5 separate regions of the Homo sapiens genome follow, and all the other regions are linked to region 1. Evidence: promoter capture Hi-C in 16 types of primary human blood cells and fetal thymus (Javierre and others, 2016). All regions are on one chromosome and are shown on one strand. Each heading gives the region's core, a stretch centred on a gene start or on the middle of the fragment in contact. The rest is flanking DNA. Distances are from core to core; before and after follow the strand shown.

Evidence for each region. Contacts are between HindIII fragments. The CHiCAGO score rates a contact against its expected background, and 5 or more counts as called.
Region 2: a contact is called between a fragment that was not itself captured here and the fragment with the promoter of NEK9 in region 1, in 2 of 17 cell types (monocytes and neutrophils). The highest score is 13.2, in monocytes.
Region 3: a fragment that was not itself captured here is called in contact with the fragment with the promoter of NEK9 in region 1 in 6 of 17 cell types (monocytes, neutrophils, activated CD4 T cells and 3 more); the score reaches 14.8 in monocytes.
Region 4: a fragment that was not itself captured here is called in contact with the fragment with the promoter of NEK9 in region 1 in 11 of 17 cell types (monocytes, neutrophils, activated CD4 T cells and 8 more); the score reaches 13.4 in monocytes.
Region 5: a fragment that was not itself captured here is called in contact with the fragment with the promoter of NEK9 in region 1 in 1 of 17 cell types (erythroblasts); the score reaches 5.2 in erythroblasts.

What each region holds. Positions count from the first base shown.
Region 1 is chr14:75,125,701-75,128,400 of GRCh38, reverse strand. It overlaps NEK9 (NIMA related kinase 9), which reads left to right and starts at 1,353. Exons shown (of 22, transcript NM_033116.6): 1 at 1,353-1,698. The coding sequence starts at 1,480. RefSeq lists enhancers at 1,300-1,429, 1,440-1,489. The HindIII fragment of the contact is 1,961 bases long and covers 256-2,216 here.
Region 2 is chr14:75,366,058-75,368,757 of GRCh38, reverse strand. No RefSeq gene overlaps it. Among named protein-coding and RNA genes, the nearest start is that of JDP2-AS1, 60 kb to the left of the region's middle. The HindIII fragment of the contact is 681 bases long and covers 966-1,646 here.
Region 3 is chr14:75,347,396-75,350,095 of GRCh38, reverse strand. No RefSeq gene overlaps it. Among named protein-coding and RNA genes, the nearest start is that of LINC01220, 54 kb to the right of the region's middle. The HindIII fragment of the contact is 2,792 bases long and covers 1-2,700 here.
Region 4 is chr14:75,329,779-75,332,478 of GRCh38, reverse strand. No RefSeq gene overlaps it. Among named protein-coding and RNA genes, the nearest start is that of LINC01220, 37 kb to the right of the region's middle. The HindIII fragment of the contact is 884 bases long and covers 965-1,848 here.
Region 5 is chr14:74,883,433-74,886,153 of GRCh38, reverse strand. DLST (dihydrolipoamide S-succinyltransferase) reads right to left here. Exons shown (of 15, transcript NM_001933.5): 3 at 520-568. Among named protein-coding and RNA genes, the nearest start is that of DLST, 2.9 kb to the right of the region's middle. The HindIII fragment of the contact is 644 bases long and covers 937-1,580 here.

The DNA.
Region 1 (2,700 bases), core at 104-2,603:
CTTTTTCAGATTGCTGGGTTCAACTTCCCAGCTCCCTCTTACTAGGTCTGTCACATTAAGCAGGTTACTTAGGTACCTCTGTTTCTGTAAAATGGGAATGTTAGGATAATACATAATACATAATACATAGGATAATACATAATAATGTGAGATAATACGTAAAAAACCTTTAGCATAGTACCCAGAACATAACACTCAATAAATGTTAGCTGTTATGTCTGTGATGTAGACCACATTCTCACAACAAAACAAGCTTGGAGATGAGAAGTTGCCCAAGGTCACATAATTGCCCAAGGTCACATAACTGATGGAACACCTATTGTTCACCGTATTGCTGTTTTCCTACTTGACGGTAGGGAGAACATTATTGCAGATTTCCTGTTCCCAAACAGTGTGTGGCACCAAGTGCTCAAAGAATGTTTCATGATATCATATGGTCAAATATCTGGAAAAACACATAGAATAAATTGAATCTGGAAAAAGAGACGGGGGAGAAGGAAAGTGTCAGGAGAGTTGACTTAAAATATTTTTGGAGTTGTGTAGAAGAGGGAGGGACTTAGGATGGCCCTGGGAGAAAGAACTCGGCCCAGGGACCGAGATGACCGGAGGCAGACATTTAGGCTGTCTATATTATTATTATTTTTTTTTTTTTTGAGACAAAGTCTCGCTCTGTTATCCAGGCTGGAGTGTAGTGCGCGATCTCGGCTCGCTGCAACCTCCTCCTTCCGGGTTCAAGTGATTCACCTGCCTCAGCCTCTGGAGTAGCTGGGATTACAGGTGCCTGCCACCACGCCTGGCTAATTTTTGTATTTTATAGAGACGGGGTTTCACCAGTTGGTCAGGCTGGTCTCAAACGCCTGACCTCAGGTGATCCGCCCGCCTCGGCTTCCTAACATGCTGAGATTACAGGCGTGAGCCACCTTGCCCGGCCATATTATCTTTACTATACTATCTCTCTAAAAAAGAATGCTGTCCAACGTTGGAATGGGGAAGAAGGTGTACACTGGGAATGCTTCCCCAATCACCCTCTTGTCACAGACCTGACGTCAAGATGAGACTGGACGACCTCTGGGCCTCCAAGTTGTATGAGTCCGGACCGGGGAGGCAGAGAAGGGTCAATAGACCCGAGAGGCCGTACCGTCAGTGATGCCCTTGTTCCCGTGGGAGCCCTTCGGTTCCACGCGGTTCCCACCACGCGCCCGCCAACCCTAGCCCGAGGCCTCACTTTGCAGGCCTTCCCCGAAAGCGGGAAGCCTTGGCCGCTAGACTAGCCAAGAGGGTAAGCAAAGGCGGAGGAAACTCAGCCAGGCCGGAAACACAGAGAACTGTTTCCGGGTCGGGGGGCAGGAGCCACCATCGAGCTTCGCGGGGTTGCTGGGCTGACGGATCCGCGGGCCGGCATCTGAAGCGAGCGGGACGCAGCGCGGCCAGGGCCTCCGGGCATACGCAGGCTGGTCCCCAAGGCCCGCGGCCGCCGCCATGTCGGTGCTGGGCGAGTACGAGCGACACTGCGATTCCATCAACTCGGACTTTGGGAGCGAGTCCGGGGGTTGCGGGGACTCGAGTCCGGGGCCTAGCGCCAGTCAGGGGCCGCGAGCCGGCGGCGGCGCGGCGGAGCAGGAGGAACTGCACTACATCCCCATCCGCGTCCTGGGCCGCGGCGCCTTCGGGGAAGCCACGCTGTACCGCCGCACCGAGGTAGCGGCCCTCGGCGCCGGCCGCCCTGTCTGGCGCTGTCGGGTCGCCCCGAGTCCCTCCTTCTCGGCCCCGCTTTCCCAGCGTCGTGAGCTTAGTGCTTTAGGCGCCCACGGGGTATATGTCTTAGGGTCTTCACCACTCTTCCCACTCACCGGCACTAGAAATTGGCTAGATCATTGGTTTGACTAGTCATTTTTGATTGTCCTAAGTCACCTAACCGTCTCTTGAGCTTTAGTTTCCCCATCTGTAAAATGGGCTTACTGATAATACCTTGAAATCATCTTTTTCTTTTTTTTTTAAGATTATCTTGAGAATCAAACGAAGGCTCTGTTCTGTAAATTAAAGTGGTATACGAATGTGAGGTATTGCCAAAACTTCCTTCCTCTCATGCTGTATATATAGTTCTCCAAGGTCGGGGTGAGGAGGAGGGGCATAGCTTCAAAATCCCCACACCCGTGGCAACTCCGTTATTTTTGTCATTATCTTTAAGTTCAGCAGTGATCACTCAGTTGGAAGCTTTTCTTGAAGCTCATTGGGAAGATCTTTGTGTGTTGGTTCTTTATCAGTGTTTATCTTGCAGGGTTTATGCATGGGAAATACTTTGTTGGTATATTCTAAGCCATTAGTTCTTAATTTGGGGGGCACAAGGACCCCTTTGATAACCTAAGCAAAGTAATCTTGCCCCCTCCATCAACACATTTGCACATATGCACATCCTTTGGAGAGATCCATGGATCACGGAATCCCAAGTTAATATATACTAGTGTAAAACCCTGCAGTGATTATTCTACTTCCAAAAACTAACGATACACTAGATTTGATCATAAAATCTTACTTTAGGGTAAACATTTAATGAGAACTTGCTGGGGTTGCTGAAGGTGATTCATCCGTCGGAAATCCATCTGCAGTTCTGGTGTGTGTTCCAAGCCAGCATACTTTTAAGGCTGAAAGATGGAGAAGGAGAGAAGTGGTTGCAAGAGAATATTTTTAAGTGTTCTTTTT
Region 2 (2,700 bases), core at 57-2,556, 240 kb before region 1:
CAGAAATTGAGACAGTTAAAAGCTACTGCCTCCAGGAGGCAAGATTGAATCCAAGGAGTGGGATGGAGGCCTATTTTTAACTTAAGTCCTTCTGTGCCATTTATCTTTCTAACTGTGTGCATGTAGATCTTCAATTAAATGTTTGTAAATTTTTAAAAATTCAGATCTGTCTGATTCCAAAGCTGCATCCCAGAGTTATGCCCCAGGCAGGCTAATCGGAAATTCATGGACAAGTCTGTTTGGAGTAGGCAGACAGAACTGTTGCTTACTTCATAGGAATCAAGCACAGCAGTGAGTGTCTTAGGCTTGGTTTGGCAGCAGTGCCTGGTGCATACATTCCTAAGGTAAGAAGCTGGCCAAGCCCTTCATCTCATACCCCAAATAGATGGACACACAGATTCTGAGAGTCAGGGGAAATACCAGCCCCCATACTGTGTTGGACTGGAGGCCTCTTCATTTCCACTAGATTGCTGCTGAACTTGCCATCACCAAGAATAGGGATTCACTTTTGACTTTCTGGGCCCCTCCCAGACTTTAATATCTATGATTGAGACTCTCAGCAGCAGGGACCTGCTAACTGGAGAATGTCAGCAATTGGGTTGGCACAGGAGAAGGAGCTTCTCCATTGTGAAGTTCTTCTCAAAGGCTACTGTGGCAGGGTGGTTAATATGGGAGGGTCAGTTGGTTGGATAATGCCCCTTCTTATTTAAGAAAAAACAACAACACTTTTTTTAGACTTACGAATGCAATACGACTACAGTACTGAAAGTTTGGGAAATTCAGAAAGGTTGCCCCAAAACCCCACCACCCTAACACAATCAATCATTACTTTTTGCCATAGTTTCTCACTTCATTCTCCTCTGCATCTGTTTTTTTCAGTCTGTCATCACAGTGTACACTAATTTGACCCTCGTATCTTCTGCTAAATTTATATCATAAGCATTTTCCATGTTGTTATGTAAGCTTCATAACTATCATTTTAAATAGTGCATAATATGAAGTGCAGGATTTTGTCCCTGAACCTAGGAACACTGGAACCTGGTGTACGGTAGACAATATGTGTTTTTAAATGAATGGAATGAGTAATTGGGCCATAATTTATTATTCTTCTACTGTGAGATATTTAAGAAATTTGTTCCCAATCTTCCAACACATTGTCTTATTTCTTGCCTGAACGCCCTTCCTTTTTTTCCTTCTTCATTCAATTTCCCCAAGACATTCTCAAACTGCTCTTTGCCCCTCTTTCCCAGATCCCACTGGCTCTATCCTTCATGTATCACAAATCAAACAGGTGTGTGTTAAGCACAGGACAGGGTTGCATAAGAAAAGCCAAATCCTGTTCATGGTGGCTTAGCCGAGTGGGAAACATCTACAAGCCACGTGCAGATCCTGCCTGAGCTGAAACCCCACCATGTCCTTCAGAGTCAATGTGTTCTGTCAACACTGCTAACACCATCAGGTAGCCGTCTGCCTAAAATAGTGGCCCAGACCCTGCCAGTTATTGCGTCTCATTGCTTACATTTTTCATGTGAATTTAAACATTCAAACATCACGAACATGAAACATGAACACTCAACCCACTGTGGCATTTTAATGAGGTTCAACTGGGTTCAGCACATTCCACTACTTACAATTGTGTAAAAGCTTTTCGACCCGGATCACTTCCTTAGGTCTGACCCCTTACAGCCAAGACAAACTTTGTGTTTTCTGAGCACTTGAAAGGCTGGGGAGAATTGTGTCTGGGGAGATGGTGAACCACCACAGGGCCTACCTTGGCTCTGATTAGCTGGACCAGACATTTAACTGAGCTAATCAAAAGCCCCTGAAGAGGAAATGGCTGCATGATAAACTCTGATGGGAGATTCTCACTCACTCACCCTGAAAACCCTCCCCACACACTTTACCTTGCTTTCTACTCTTTGCAAATCATAGCACATCTGCAGTTCCTAGAAGTTTCCCATGGAGAGAGTAAAGAGTTATTAATATTCCCATCTGACAGATGTGGCAATTGAGGCCTGGAAAAATAGGGTGACTTTTGTGAGACTGCAGGACAAAGCACTAGTCATCTAAGGTTCCTTCTACTAAACAGATTTTGGTACAAACTAAGCTGTAAGAAAGAGGCTTAAAATACACAAGCCGGCTGGCATGGTGGCTCACGCCTGTAATCCCAGCACTTTGGGAGGCCAAGACAGGAGGATCACTGGAGGCTAGGAATTTGAGACCAGCCTGGTCAATAAAGAGAGACCCTGTCTCTACAAAAAAAAATTTTTTATAAAAGAAATACACCAGCCCACAGGTAGGTGGTCCAGGCTATTAGGGTGGCTCTGCCATCTTCAATGCAGGCTTCCATTGCTGCATCCAAGGTGGCTTCTCCAGTGGTCCTCATCCCCCCAGTAAGAACGAGAAATGGGAAGAGAAGCAGCCATACACTCCTTTTTTGGGCCACACTCAAACGTGTGTTTCTTCTGATCCCTCAGTGGCTGAGACATTGTCACATGGACAGACCCAATAACAAAGGAGGTTGGGTGGCCTTCTGTCCAGCTCCCACTCTGGAGTTCTGTTATCAAATGGAGGGGGAAATGGATATCAGTGGACAACCAGCCCACTGCAGCACATAAGTCATGACAACTCCACAGCTGGTAGATGAGGAAGCCCAAGGTGCTTGGTTTTAGCAGCCTCTGAGTGTCCCAGCATCTGCTC
Region 3 (2,700 bases), core at 91-2,590, 220 kb before region 1:
GTCTGTGAGCACATCTGTTTGTTTTCAGTTTAGGGGAGGAAAATTGCAGCCAGGCCTCTGCCATAACTAGCAATACTTAGCACCACTCTCTCCCTCCCCAGATTAAAATGAGTTGTCCTGTAGTAGGGTAGCTAATGACCACTCTGTGACAACCAAAAATCTCAGTGGCTTAACACAATACAGGTTAATTTCTTACTTCTGTCACAGATCAATGAGAAATCAAAGGTGAGGAACTCTGCTCCATATAGTCATTCAGGGACCCAAGCCCTTTCCCTAGTGGCTCTGTTATCTCCTAAGACTTGGAATCCCCCACTACATCCTCAGTGTACAGCCAGCAGATGAAAGACCAGAGAGAGTGATGGATCACAGGGGACACTTTTAGGAACCAGGACCAGAGGTGGTATACGGCACTTTCACCTGCATCCCACTGGTCGGGACTGAGTCACATGCCCCAGCAAACTACAAGAGAGGCTGGGAAATGTAATCTAGCCATGTGCCCAAAAGGAAAAGGAAATGGAGGTTGGTGAACACATAGCAATCACCTCTCAGCCTGGAGTGCTTGGTCTGCAACCTAACCCCTCAATAAGCCCCATATCTTGAAGAATTTCAACCTTGTCTCAACCAAGCAGCCCAACCACAGCTGCTCAACCTGCCCCTAAGTATCAACTTAATGACATTGGTTCTCACACAATTGCTAGTCTTCGTTCATCCAATAAACAGTTACTGAGCACTTAATCATCCCCCAGTTGTTATGCTATACACCAGAGAGGCAAAGGCAAGTAAAAAAGTGGTCCCTGCCCTCAAGAAGACCCCATCTTGTATAACCTCATTCAAACCTAAGGAAAACATTTACTATATTATTATTTCGCCATTTAAAATCCTTTTCTTGGCTGGGTGCGGTTGCTTACGCCTGTAATCCCAGCACTTTGGGAGGCCGAGGCGGGCAGATCACTTGAGGTCAGGAATTCAAGACCTGCCTGGCCAATATGGTAAAACCCTGTCTCTACTAAAAATACAAAAATTAGCCGGGCATGGTGGCAAGTGCCTGTAGTCCCAGCTACTCAGGAGGCTGAGACAGGAGAATCACTTGAACCCAGGAGATGGAGATTGCAGTGAGCCGAGAAAGCACCACTACACTCCAGCCTGGTGACAGAGCAGGACTCCATCTCAAACAAACAAACAAACAAACAAACAAACAAAAAAACCCTTTTTTTGTCAAACATACAGGAAGGTGCCTAAAAAATAGGAACCTCACACAAATGTTAATTGCTTGTTATTGGGGAATAGGGGGTATCACCCAGGGCATGGTCTTGACTCCCAGTACAAGTGATCATGCCTCTTCCTTTGTTCCTTTGCCAGTTAACTCCTGGGATTATCCTCCGCCATGCTTCTCCCAGACTGACATGTGGGGAAGGCTGGCATCTCCATGTTTCTAACCTCTCTTCTGGTTGCCTCATAAAGTGTCTGGCTGTGGATCCGCTCCAGCCCCATACCAGCCCCAGGGCAGCAAGGCCTACCAAGAGGCCCAGGCAGCAGGTACTTATCTCCAGAACCATCAGGTATTTCGTGATGAGGTCTGAGGATTTATGATGGTGGTGCCTGGCTTCCTCAGTCTCCAACCAGGCACCATGAATGAAGTAGTGGGTAGGGTCTGCTGTCTGTACAACATCAAACATGCCCCAGATGCTCTTCAGAGTAGAAATCCATCAGGAGTTTTTGATTGTCCAGCATTAACTCCCTTAATCATCTGGGACAACTCCCCATTGTGCGGTATGGGATAAATGCAGTCCCTCCCCATCTCCAACCACCTCCAGAAATGGAAATGAGGAGGTTCTCTTTTTGACCTCCGCCACACTGAGCAGGCCTGGGAACGTGACCTAGGCTCAGCTAATCAGCCATTCCTACCAGGGATTTTGAGGCTGGAATGAGTGACCGAAGCAAAGGGCCAGTTCAGGGGCATTTGAGGAAGAGGTAGTATGTCTGATGGCAATGGTGACAGTGCTCTGGAGGCTGGGAGCAGGGGCAGCAATTTGGGGTCAGCCTGACCCAGATAAAACGCCTTTGTGCTCTTTGCGTCACTCCTGGTCACTTTCCAAGCCTGCTTTTCTAACCCCCAACAACTCTGTGAACCCCTGATAGCCTTCCTGTAATTTCCCTTTTTCCCTTATAGTCAAAGCCTCTGACTGATATGATGCCAAACCACCTCCGAGTCAAGGCCACATAGGATGGAGCGCACAGACAGACCAAAATCGCCTACTCCAACCCACCTCCACGCCTGCCTAAACAAATCCATCCACCTCCTGCCCAAGCAGAGCTCTGAGAGGTCATCTCCAAGCATCACAAGAGCTGACGAGAGGATGCTGCTGTCAGGGGTCAGGGTCAACTCCAGGAGAGGAGTTGAGGTGATGCTGCTGTTCACCTCTGAAAGTCTCTAAAAACAATCACAATAAGATCCAGCAGAATTTCAGAGGACTTCAGGCTCTTCAGAGGATGGGCTCTTCAGATACAGAAAAGCTGAAACTCACCTGGTTAAACTTAGTCCCCGCATTGAAGAGGGCCCTTTGGGTACTGGGGGCTAGTTTAGGGAAATTCTGAAACGCCTTTTTACATCTCCCAAAGAATGCAGAAACTCATTTTGGATCCTTTAATGCAATCTGACAGGTAATATGTCTTAGTCCATTTTCTGATGTTATAACAGAA
Region 4 (2,700 bases), core at 157-2,656, 200 kb before region 1:
GTAATATGGGAGGGGATTAAGCAGATGGGACATGGATAGGGAAGGAATGGCCTTGGGTCAATATTTCTTGGGACTAGGTAATGAGTAGATGAGGGTTCATTATACTCTTCTGTCTACTGCCTCCGTAATATAAAGTTAAATTAATTCTCCAGCCTTCCAAAAAGGGAGAAATGAATTAATGAACAAATATTGGCAAAACATTAGAAATTATTGAACCTGGGTGATAAATACACATGGATTTATTGTGTTATTTTTTCTACATTTTTATGTGTTTGAAAAAATGATTAAAAATGACTTTTTAAATGTTTATTTTTATTTTATTTATTTATTTATTTTGGCCAGGTGCAGTGACTCATGCCTGTAATCCCAGCACTTTGGGAGGCTGAGGTGGGTGGATCACTTGAGGTCAGTAGTTTGAGACCAGCCTGGCCAACATGGCAAAACCCCGTCTCTACTAAAAATAGAAAAATTAGCTGGGCATGGTGGCGGGTGCCTGTAATCCCAGCTACTTGGGAGGCTGAGGTGGGAGGATCTCTTGAACCCCAGAGGCAGAGGTTACAGTGAGCGGAGATCATGCCGCTGCCCTCAAGCCTGGGTGACAGAGTGAGACTGCATTTCAAAAAACAAAAACAAACAAAAAATAATAATAAAATAAAATGTTTAATTTCTTTTTTAATGCCACCTTATCACAAACCCTTCATCTGTGTAAAGCTAGGCCATGGGTATTCAACACGCACTACACAGATGTTGATGGACAAGTGTTTCCTCAAAGATCTCAAGTGCTTCTGCTGCCTCTTCCTTAGATGAGCACACTGAAATGCTCCAGAAAACAGAACTTCTTGGCTGGGCAGTGCTGCTTTGGCATCTCCATGCCTTTGCACTTGCTCTGCCCTCCACATAGACTGGCCTTCCCCAGTCCACCTGCCAAGCTCTTACTCAGTTTCAGCCCCTCTTCTCTAAAGCTTTCTCTGACCCTCCCAGGCCTTGTGTCACCACTGAGCCCTGTACATACCTCTGTGTTATACAGTTCACCTTGAAATCCAATTGTTCCTTGCATGCCTAGCCCCCACCCCACACTAAACTTTTAACTACTTGAGAGCAGGGACTTTATTTTTTATTTTTATTTTTTTGAGACAAGGTCTCGCTCTGTTGGCCAGGCTGGAGTAGAGTGATACAATTATACCTCACTGGCACTTCAAACTCCTGGGCTCAAAGGATCCTCCCGCTTCAGCTTCCTAAATAGCCACATGTACGTGCCACCACATCCAGTTAATTTCTAAAAAATTTTGGTAGAGACAGGGTCTCACCATCTTACCCAGGCTGGTCCTGAACTCCTGGGCTCAAGCAGTCCTTCTGCCTTGGCCTCCCGAAATCCTGGGATTACAGGCATGAGCCACCACGCCTGGCCCAGGGATAATGTTTCATTCAACTTTCCATCATTAGGACTTCAAATACCACCTATATGCTCATGACTCCCGAATCAACATCACCAACCTCACACTCCCCAGCACCAGACTCTTATAGCCAAATGCCTTGAACAAGGCAAATGCCTTCTGAACTTCTCCCCTTGGGTGTTCTACAGACCCCTGAAATTCACCGTGTCCAAAACTGAACACATTGTCTTTCCCCTAAACTTACTCTTCCTGCCATGCCTGAGCAGGTAAACAGAACCCTCCACTCAGTCGCTCAACCCACAAATACGAGGTCTACCCTTCACCCCTCTTCTCCTGCACTTCAGCTACTGATTTCACTTCCTACATAAGCCTTGAATGTTCCCACCTCCCTCATCCCTACAGCCCCTTCCTTGTTCAGGGCACCATTGCCTCTCTCCTAATGACAGCAAAAGCTTCTTCGCTGTTCTCCAATCTTGCCCCCTCCATCCCAAGTCTCCATATGAAAGTCTGATCTTTCTAAAATGCCAATATAATCCTATCATATCCTAATAAAATTCTTCCATGTCGCCCTAAAGTTCAAATTCTTCAACATTGAACATGGCTTACAAAGCCCCTTTGTGACTGACCTCAACTCACCTCACTCCCTATCATTTCTCTCTCCAACCCTGCCTACTAATCCCCAACGCACACACACACACACACACACACACACACACACACACTCAATAAGCTCTAGCCACTTGGAAGGACTTGCAGTTTCCCAGCATGCCTTACTCTTTCTGTGGCACAGACAGCACTGCCCACCAAATATCACATGGGCTCCCCTACATTCCTAGCCCTGTAGCATTTAGATGGAACTGGGTCACTGGTTCTGGACAATGGGTCATGAGCAGAAGTTGGATGATCACTCCAAGGCTAAATCATTCTCTCTCTCTCTTTTTCTTTTTCTTTTTTTTTTTGACAGAGTCTCGCTCTGTCACCCAGTCTGGAGCTGGAGTGCAGTGGCATGATCTCGGCTCACTGCAACCTCTGCCCCCCGGGTTCAAGCGATTCTCCTCCCTCAGCTTCCTGAGTAGCTGGGATTACAGGCATGTGCCACCATGCCTGGCTAATTTTTGTATTTTTAGTAGAGATGGGGTTTCGCCATGTTGGCCAGGCTGGTCTCAAACTCCTGACCTCAAGTGATCCACCAGCTTTGGTCTCCCAAAGTGCTGGGATTACAGGAGTGAGCCACCGCACCTGGCCTCTCTCGCTCTCTCTCTGTCTCTTCCTCCCCAGCCACATGTTGAGATGACAGAGTCTTGAG
Region 5 (2,721 bases), core at 9-2,508, 240 kb after region 1:
TACGCAGAAGTTAATCTGAAACACACATGGGTAGCCTTTCTCCAAACTCTGCATTATGCAATAACAGCATTCCCTCCAAACTAGTCAGTCAGTCCCAGGACTCAACCAGTTTTATGCTTTTACTGTTTTTAAAAATGAGTAACTATGCTACTGAGAGGATGCTCTCAATCTCCACAATAAATGTAACCTCGAGCCTTTCAGCTGCACTTACATCCAAACAGAATATCTAGGAGCACCCTTCTATATCCCATAAAAAGAGGATTCCAACTTAACTTTCATTATAATCCAAACACCTGTGGAGAGTGGGCACACTCCCAGTCCAAAACCTGACACGGAGCTGATGCTCAAGGAACATCACATGGGAAAAGTGAACATTGAGGTTAGTCTAGGGACTCAACATAATCACCTCAATTTCTAGGTCTGGAGGCCAGTGAAGAAATCAGATGGTCAAATTTAGAACTTTATGTCTTTAAATAAATAACCCGTGGCCACATATCTGTACTCCCCAGTGATACTTACACAACCTTCCTGCTGTTAGGGTAACCTGGTCCCTGGCATAAGGAGACCCCTGCAAGAAACAAAATAACTCTTAACCAACAACTCTTATCTCACAAAGGATACATGCTGGGAATGGAAAAGGTCTGCTCACCCCCAACCCTGAGACAGAGCAGGATCAACGGCAACGGATATAATCTTTATCATAGAGTCCTGCTTCTCAAACTTTTCCAAAGTAGCCTTAGTGGCAGAGAGCAAATGGGTATGTGAGATCGAGTGGGTATGTGTTTGGCTGGGGAGGAAAGAGAAAAAATTTGATGGCACAGCCCAAAGTGATTATATAATCTCATCTACCTTAAAAAGCCAGAACTTTTCATTATTCCTGTATGTTTTCATAATAAAATGTCTCTACTCGCCAAGTCTTCAAATACAACTGAAGCTTGAGAAAGACATGGGATGGCTTATCCTGTGACTATACATAACCCAATTTGAGAAGCAAGGAGGATGTTTGGTCTGGGTTTGAAAAGATTGGGTTGGAAATCTTATCACCTGAATCCTAGTAGCAAAGACTTGGCTACTTTAGGCTCGGGGTCTCCAGTTTGTCCTAGAGCTGAGAAAATCATGTCCCCATCTTTCAGTTTATTGACTTCCCATGCCTTTCTGAAGTCTTCCACCCTGGTCACTCTCAACAAGGTGAGAGACCCTTTCTGCCCACCAGCTGTCCTTATCATAGTTAACTGCATTTCCCCAACTGATGACTAGTAACTACAGCTGCCTCTTCTGAATTCTTTCTTATGTCTTTTTTCTTTCAGATTAACAACTCTTTCTGAACCATGGGCTCAGGACACACCAAATGAGAGCTAGCCCTCTCTTATGCCCACCTCCTCACAAGCATCCCAAGATAGGTAAGCCAGTCACCTTTATGTCCAGCAGCCAATGACTATGCAGTGCAAATTCTAAGCATAGTATGTTTTTGAACTAGAATAGATGGCGGCTCACACTGATTTTGGGAACCTGGAGTCCAATTCAGAGTTCATCCTACAGCAAATTTCATTTGTACAGTGCTTTAGGGTTTATAAAAAGCTTTCCCATAATGACCTCATTTTGATTTTACAGTCTCACAACTCTCTGAAGTGGAACGACCATCTGCCATTATTCCCATTTCATATAAGTAGGACTTTTGGAGGTTAAGCGACTAGCCCAAGGTGAATCCCTGAGCCCAAATGCAAATCCCCAAGTGCAAGGCTCTTTCCATTGTCCTGCCCACCTATGAAGTGGAGAAAATGTTTACTGACATTGTTCAGGGTTCCCACTTGAAAAACATGTTTGTTATTGAGAGTCCACTACAAGCCGACATTGTGCTAGGGGCTTTATGTTCTCATAACTCTCAGGATAAAGTCCACACTTTACGCGATCCTGTACCGTCCAGCCCACTCTATCTTTCCTGCCAGACAGGCTTCTTCCCATGTCTATCACTGGTCAAGTCCTTTCCTGTCTGAAAACCTTTGCACAAGCAATTCCCTTTGCCTGGAATACATTTTCTTGGCTCTTTTATATTCAGGTCTCAGTTAAATGTCACTTCTTCAGGGAAGCCTTTACTGACATTCCCAACCTTCCCAAGCTGGTCTACATCATCCCACCCTCTCATCACACCCTTTAATTCCTCTCTCGTAGTAACCAAAATTTATGCCCTTGTCGGAGCATAAATGTATATTTGCTCTCTCTCTCCAGCTAGCCCATAAAATCTCGAGGCTAGAGTCTATCTATACCCCTGTTACCTAGAACAGTGGCTGGCATATAGTAAGCACTCAATAAATGATCTGTTGAGTCCATGAGTAAATGAGAACATGGTGGGTTAAGAGTTCAGGATGGGTCAGGTAGACCTGGCTTATCAACAGCTGGGTGGGTGACCATGGCCAAGGCTTTTAAGCTCTCTTGTCTTGGGTTATGCATTTGTAAAATAGAGAAAATACTTTTTACTGTTTTGAGATGATTAACTAAAAAATTCACAGAAAGCACTCATATAAATGCTTGGCACAAAGAAAGCCCACAACAAGGTCAACTCATTCAACAAATACTTAGGCTAGGCATATAACAGAAAAAAAGCTATGGATGACACTTTTTTCTTTTTAACTGCTAGGATAAAATCTAAACTCCTTCAGTCTCTATACCATCTTCTATCTCTTGCCACTCTCTCCCTTAACCAAAATACTCCGGCCAAATCAC